2 separate regions of the Homo sapiens genome follow, and region 1 is linked to region 2. Evidence: promoter capture Hi-C in 16 types of primary human blood cells and fetal thymus (Javierre and others, 2016). All regions are on one chromosome and are shown on one strand. Each heading gives the region's core, a stretch centred on a gene start or on the middle of the fragment in contact. The rest is flanking DNA. Distances are from core to core; before and after follow the strand shown. Region 1 overlaps HACD1 (3-hydroxyacyl-CoA dehydratase 1). Region 2 holds the start of CACNB2 (calcium voltage-gated channel auxiliary subunit beta 2).

The links. Contacts are between HindIII fragments. The CHiCAGO score rates a contact against its expected background, and 5 or more counts as called.
Region 1: a contact is called between a fragment that was not itself captured here and the fragment with the promoter of CACNB2 in region 2, in 1 of 17 cell types (fetal thymus). The highest score is 5.5, in fetal thymus.

What each region holds. Positions count from the first base shown.
Region 1 is chr10:17,591,587-17,595,492 of GRCh38, reverse strand. HACD1 (3-hydroxyacyl-CoA dehydratase 1) reads left to right here. Exons shown (of 7, transcript NM_014241.4): 6 at 1,110-1,288. Among named protein-coding and RNA genes, the nearest start is that of HACD1, 24 kb to the left of the region's middle. The HindIII fragment of the contact is 4,408 bases long and covers 1-3,750 here.
Region 2 is chr10:18,138,808-18,142,544 of GRCh38, reverse strand. It overlaps CACNB2 (calcium voltage-gated channel auxiliary subunit beta 2), which reads right to left and starts at 2,121. Exons shown (of 14, transcript NM_201596.3): 1 at 1,689-2,121. The coding sequence starts at 1,808. The HindIII fragment of the contact is 10,163 bases long and covers 1-3,737 here.

The DNA of each region.
Region 1 (3,906 bases), core at 297-2,796, 550 kb after region 2:
GAATTCAGGAACTAACTTGTCAATTTATTTTGTTACGGTAGCAGTTTTAGACAATATAATATACTCATTAGTAGCTACTCATGCTTCAGGTGGTATTATCAGTTTTCTGCAATAATTGGTTTTCATTAGTAACCACAAAGACTTTTTCAAATGCCTCTTAAAAATAACTACCTTGGTAATTTCAAGGTTTAGATATAAAATTTAGGATAATCACTGGTCTTTTTAAACGCAGTGTTTGATCAATAAATTACTAGCTGCCGCGGACAAAAGCAGTCATTTGTGATTTTATGCACCAAAGAAGTTACCATTACAATACTTTTTTTAAAGCTACATAGGCCGGGCATGGTGGCTCATGTCTGTAATCCCAGCACTTTGGGAGGCTGAGGCGGGTGGATCACCTGAAGGCAGGAGTTCAAGACCAGCCTGACCAACATGGTGAAACCCTGTCTCTACTAAAAATACAAAAATTAACCGGGCGTGGTGGCGGGCGCCTGTAGTCCCAGCTACCCAGGAGGCTGAGGCAGGAGAATTGCTTGAACCCGGGAGGTGGAGGTTGCAGTGACCCAAGATTGTGCCACTGCACTCCAGTCTAGGCGACAGAGTAAGACTCCATCTCAAAAAAAAACAAAAAACAAAAAAAAAAAACACCAAAAATTAGCTGGGTATGGTGGCACACACCTGTAATCCCAGCTACTTGGGAGGCTGAGGCAGGAGAATTACTTGAACCCAGGAGGTGGAGGTTGCAGTGAGCCAAGACTGTGCCGCTGCACTCCAGCCTGGTGACAAGAGCGAACTCCATCTCAAAACAAAAACAAGAAAAACTACATATACATTTTTTAATACATAAAAGTATTTTGGTACTCTAAAATAAGTTGATACTATTTTATTAAAAAGACATTGCCTATTATGGAAACTGGTATTAGGAAAAAAAGGATGATAATCAATAAGCAAATGATTAAAGTAGAACTATTAACCTTACGTAAGGTTATTGTAAATATGTAAAGAAAAGAGAATTTTGAAGTTTAAATTTAGTAGTAGCAATAGACCTGCAATGTAAAGTCTAATAATTATTGTAGAAAAATAATTCTCTGAGGTTTTTCTTTCTCCAGATATAATTTTTTTATCATCTTATATCCTGTTGGAGTTGCTGGTGAACTTCTTACAATATACGCTGCCTTGCCGCATGTGAAGAAAACAGGAATGTTTTCAATAAGACTTCCTAACAAATACAATGTCTCTTTTGACTACTATTATTTTCTTCTTATAACCATGGCATCATATATACCTTGTAAGTATATACTTATTAGTACTTTGATTTGACATATGATGTGGAAATTTTTGAAAGGATATAATAATATGCAAGGGGAAATAATTAGAAATAATTGCTTACAAATACATTAAAACTTCGGTTTAACTCCATATTTACTGATAATTTGGGAAAAGTGAAGGGAGATAGAGGCAGAAGACAGTTCATTAGCTATGAGAATAAAGGCAGGTAAATTAACGCATGGATTATTGCTTTCTCAAAATCATTTAAACATCAGCTTAGTATGATTTTTTTAAAGAAAGATAAAAACAAATCATGTTTAAAGCATTAGTGCACTTTTTACAAGCATTTAGAATTATATGTCTGAGTATAAACACTGTGTCCAAGAAAATTTCAGATCATTTCTATCTATTCATTAAGCATATACTTGGAAAAATCATCTAGGAGTAGTTTTGAGTCTTATTTGTGTTGCTCTATGTACTTGCAAATAATAAAGCCTCTTTTCTTAAAGGATTTTGAATAAGTCAGCCTCTTCACTAATTTCTCATCATCTTTCAGCAGTTGAAGTGAATTGGTAAGGCTTTACTCCATTTCAGTGCTGCTAATAGTGAGGCAGGGCTCCGTGGCTCATGCCTATAATCCCAGCACTTTGGGAGGCCGAGGCAGGTGGATCACCTGAGGTCAGGAGTTCGAGACCAGGCTGGCCAACATGGCAAAACCCTGTCTCTACTAAAATACAGAAATTAACTGGGCATGGTGGCGCATGCCTGTAATCTCAGCTACTCAGGAGGCTGAGGCAGGAGAATCGTTTGAACCTGAGAGGCAGAAGTTGCAGTGAACTGACATGATGCCATTGCATTCCAGCCTGGGCAATAAGAGTGAGACTCTGTCTCAAAAAAAAAAAGGCGTGGGGGCTAATAGTGATATATTTTTAAGTCAAATATTGATAGCTCTAAAATCTACATCGACATGATACAAATTATTTCATCTAAAGGAGATGCGCATAAAACTTGGCCAGCCCCTTGAGGTCTCCAACTTTTTTTTGTTGTTTTTTTTGAGACAGAGTCTTGCGCTTTTGCCCAGGCTGGAGTGCAGTGGCGCCATCTCAGCTCACTCCAATCGCTGCCTCTCAGGTTCATGGGATTACAAGCGCCTGCCACAGTGCCCACCTAATTTTTGTATTTTTAGTAGAGACGAGGTTTCACCATATTGGCCAGGCTGGTCTCAAACTCCTGACCTCAAGGGATCCACCCACCTTGGTCTCCCAAAGTGCTGGGATTACAGGCATGAGCCCCTGCCCCCGGCAGATGTCTCCAACTTGTATCTTTCCCAAAGTCAAAATTGACTTAGTGGTGAAAGATATGTTTTCCCCTTGTCTTCTACCACTTCAGCCTGATTCTGTATCTGATTTTCTACCCCAGCCAGTTCGGGAGAGCTAAGGAGGGGATGCCTACTCTATTGGTTCACATCCCTCTCTTTTCCCAATGGCAGGTTAATGGTAGCATTACTTGAACAGAACCAGAGCTTGCTTCGGTGTCTGTCTGACAGTTACAGGTTCAAACAGTGGGTTCTCTTCCTCCTCATGGCTTTTGAGGCATCTCCATGGAAATGGAGAGCCTGAAGCACCTTTTTCAGTTGTCCTGGGAGATGTAGACTCTGGCCTGTACCAGTAGCAGCTTCCCAGTTCACCATGCTGCCAGCTACTGAGTCCCACTGGCCAGAGAATCACTCAGCCCAGAACATGTTTTCCACTGCATTTTTTTTTAATTCCCTCCTCCCCCTGCATTCTTAATGTTAGTAATAAATCAATTAATTTTACTTATTAAATCCTTTGCTAATTAAAAGTACTTTTTGAGTACTTAGTATTCAAAAGTAGTAGTATTATTTCTCATTTACATTAAGATGAAAGAGGTTAAGTGAGTTGCTTAAAAATCACTAGCTTGTGGCCTGGTGTGGTGGCTCACACCTGTAATCGCAGCACTTTGGGAGGCCAAGGTGGGAGGATTGCTTGAGGTCAGGAGTTCAAGACCAGCCTGACCACCATGGTGAAACCCCGTCTCTACTAAAAATACAAAAATTAGCCAGACATGGTAGTGGGCACCTGTAGTCCCAGCTACTCAGGAGGCTGATGCAGGAAAATCACTGAAACCGGGGAGGCAGAGGTTGCAGTGAGCCAAGATTACACCACTGCACTCCAGCCTGAGTGACAGAGTGAGACTCCATCTCAAAAAAAAAAAAAAAAAAAAAAATCAGTAGCTGGTGAGTTAAGGCAGGGTTTGAACTCAAGCCCATACCTTCTGTTCAGCTACTCGGAATTTTATGGAAGTATTTACAATAATTGGTCAGTGAGTTTAAGTAATTATGACCTGAGTAAATTTAGCCCCCTAGGTATATATAATGTGATGGTAACCTTTCTTAAGTTAGGAAGAACCTAAATAGAAAGACTTTTTATCCAAAGTTGCCTAAGCAGGATATTCAAAGCTTGTTTTGTGATAAGGTTCATTGGTTTGATTATTCTGATCATCATATTCAGAAATATTTTTACACTGGCATTGTTTATAGCTGATATTAATTTGTTTATCCACCAACATTTATACTATGAAACACTGGTTTGAAACACTGGTTCAAATTGGTTCAAA
Region 2 (3,737 bases), core at 872-3,371:
TGGAGGACTCGAATACTGATAGTATTCAAGACCTTCATCCTAGAATAACCGAGGTCTCCGGGTACATTTTTCATTCTGTCTAACCTGGCAAGCATCTAGATAAAAATCAGGAGTCTAGAACAAATGCAAACTCTATTGGTTAAAATTCAGATCCTCTGGCAGAGGCCAGATGGGAATGTAGCTGGTTCATTACATGTCCCTACTCGGCTTGTGAAGCAAACAGCCCAGGGTGGACCAAAATCTAGCTGTTTTACCACTACAAAAGAAATAGATTTCTGATTACACAAGTCCTTGGTGTCCACATTCTTCCCCTTCTCAAGTCAAAGTGAATTATGTGTTTTAAGTTAGCACATTAATTTCCCAATGGTAAAAGAAAGTTCAATAAAGCTAGACTACTATGCCACTTGGAACTGCCATGATTACAATATCAAAATATCTAGAGCACTCATGTTCCACCTATCAAAACAACAGCAAGAAAACATTTGCCACCTTTATTAGCTTGTCACACTCCTGCCCCCACTACTACAGCAAATGATACTCTAACATGCTCTCTAGTGTGTGTATGTGTGTCTACGTATTAATATATAAGTATATATACACACACATATATATCTTACCGCAAATTAAAATCTGGCAAATGTAGGCTTGAAATCAACAAGCCAACACAGTTAAGCAAACAGACATTTCTCCAGAATGCTGCCTGAAATGTAACCAAGACCTCTTCACATCACTGGCCAGCCAACAGCCAGCCCGCAGCTAGGAGTCTGAAGTCATTTCCCTGCCGGGAGAAAAGTTGAGCGACTCCTCATCGCTGAGACCTGGAGGTGTCTGTAACCCAAACTGTACCTGCTGAAGCCTTACGTAAAAACGTAAAAACCACCTTGTCATTGCCCAGCGCCTACAACTGACATCTCCAATTTCACAACAACCTGCAGCGAAGCTGACTTTTTCCAGAAACCGCAAACACTCAACGGAGAGAAAGGGGATCCTGGAGATCCCTGAAATGGCTAACATTTCAGGGGAGACGGAAAAATAAAAACTTTCTTGTCCCCAGCTCACTCGCTTCTTAAGGGAAAGGCATGAGGTGGGACAGGCAAACCTTGGCAAGTGCCCGAGGGGACTGGAGAGCTGTCAGCCCCAGGTGCGCAGCGTGGTCCGGGCAGCTCTGGGGGGATCCGGCAGGGCACCCCCATATTCGCTCCCCTCCTGCCCACCTGCACCCCATCATCCTCACACCCACGCCCACCCCGGCTCGGAGCGTGGCCAGGAGAGTCGGCATCGTAGAAAGCGCTGCGGGAAGCGGGCCCCCTCCCGCCCACCCGGACTCACGATCTTCAGCAGGTCCAGTCCACTCCCCTGATTCATGTCTCTCCATGTGCCTCTCCCGGGAAGGGGCGAGGAGGGCCAGCTGGAGCAACCCGGGAGAAGTCTGGGAGGACTGGCAGGTCTCCCCCGCCCTTCCCCACTGGCTTTTCGGAAGCAGAGAAAAATGGAAGCCGAGGCAGAGCCAGGAAAAGGCGCAAAGGGGCAGGGTCCCCGGCGCCAGGAGAGGAGCAGAGGGTGGGCAGGCGACGAGGGGAGGAGGTGCGAGGCTAGAGATCCCTGCAGTGGAGGCGCCGGGAGAACCCGAGGTCGGTGCCCTGCCCGGCGGCTCACAAAGGAAGGAGAAGGCGCCGCGCTCTCGCTACCTGTGCGGCGGCTCCGAGCGCCCCCGCGGGAGCCACGTTCTCTAGCAGTTCCATCTGGATCTCCTGCGCCACCGCCGCCGCCGCTGTGGGAGGCGACTTGGACATGTCCCTTTGGACCATTGGCGAAAAGTCGGCTCGGAGCGAAGCAGCCAGCCCCCGGCGGCGGGTCCCCTCCTCCTCGCCCCCGCCTCCCCGCGCTCTGATCGGCTCTGGGGGCCGCCCAGGGCTCAGGCCCGGCCGTTCTCGGCGCAGCGCCCCGCAGCGCCCCGGGACTCGGCGCCCTGCTGCCAGGCGCTCAGTGCGCGGGACGGGGCCGGGGCATCGGGCGAAGCGAGCCGCTCGGGAGGCGGGACGCGGGGGCGCGGCTGCGGTGCCTGGGAGAGGGGAGCCCTCAGCGGGGCAGCCGGGGCCGGGAGAGCGGGCGCAGCGCGGCGGGGATCGGAGCCGCGGGCGCCGGGAAAGGTCCTCGCCAGGAGGGGAGGGAACTCCGGGAGCGCGAGCCAGGGGGAGGCGCGTCGGAAAGCGAGAGTGACAAGCAGCCTACAAGCCGAAAAGTTCCTCGCGGGAGGCGCGCGCCGCGTGGGCTCCGACTCAGCCGCTGCGCGTCGCCGTGGCACACAGGCTGAAAAGTTTGCGAAGCCACAGAAGCCAGGCCCGGCGCTCAGGGGGCCTTGATCCTGTTCCCATGGCCCCAGACCACCCCTCAGGAACCCTTAGAGCAGATCTCTTAACTTTGGAGGGGAAGGACGACGGAGGCTGGGTTCCTACACTGAAAGTTTTAAATTTGTAAAGCCTGCTGGCAGCCCGGGAGAGCAAATGTCTGCAAAGAACATCTTCTGGGCAGCTGAAAGCCCTTGCTAATGTCAGTAATAAGGATCCAGAGAAAGAAATGGCATTGATAAAGATCATCAGGTGATCCCACCTGAATCTGCAGCTGGCCTCGTCAACTAGGTGGGAATCCACCCAACCTGAGACCGAATGTTTTGCTTTATGACTGCTGTCTTCATCTTTGCCAAATTAAATTAGCACTTCTTTCCAAACATAATTGAAGTTTGTTGTTGTTGTTGCTTGTTGTTGTTTTAGACGGAGTCTCACTCTGTCGCCCAGGCTGGAGTGCAATGGCGCGATCTCAGCTCACTGCAACCTCCGCCTCCTGGGTTCAAGCGATTCTCTAGCCTCAGCCTCACGAATAGCTGGGATTACAGCCACAGGCCACCAAGCCCAGATAATTTTTGTGTTTTTAGTGCAGACGGGGTTTCACCATGTTGCCCGGGCTGGTCTTGAACTCCTGACCTCAAGTAATCCACCGGCCTCGGCCTCCCAAAGTGCTGGGATCACAGGGGTGGGACACCACGCCAGGCCAGGGTTGAGGTTTTTCTATAGGGGTGAAAAGTCTTAGTGTCACATTTTTGACAAAACAAGCACTTCCTTAAGATCCAGAATTCTTGATAACAGGATAGTGACTATGGTGAGGGTGTTTCACTTACAACATTCCGTTCAGATAGTCCCAAGGAGCCACATTTTTACATGATTGAGTGCAACTTATTTCAACAAATTTTACTACAGTGGAAACTTCTGTAATGAGTTTTCCAGGCATTTTTTTTTTTTTTTTTTTGAGACAGAATTTCACTCTTGTCACCCAGGCAGGAATACAGTGGCACGATCTTGGCTCACTGCAACCTTCGCCTCCTGGGTTCAATCCATTCTCCTGCCTCAGCCTCCCGAGTAGCTGGGATTACAGGTGCACGCCACCACAGCCGGCTAATTTTTTTGTATTTTTAGTAGAGATGGGGTTTCACCACGTTGCCCAGGCTGGTCTCGAACTCCTGACCTCAGGTGATCTGCCCGCCTCTGCCTCCCAAAGTGCTGGGATTACAGATTTGAGCCACTGCATCCAGCCTAATTTTTGTATTTTTTAGTAGAGACAGGGTTTCGCCATGTTGGCCAGGCTGGTCGCAAACTCCTGACCTCATGATCCGCCCACCTTGGCCTCCCAAAGTGCTGGGATTACAGGTGTGAGCCACCGTGCCCATCCAGCTCCAGAAACCT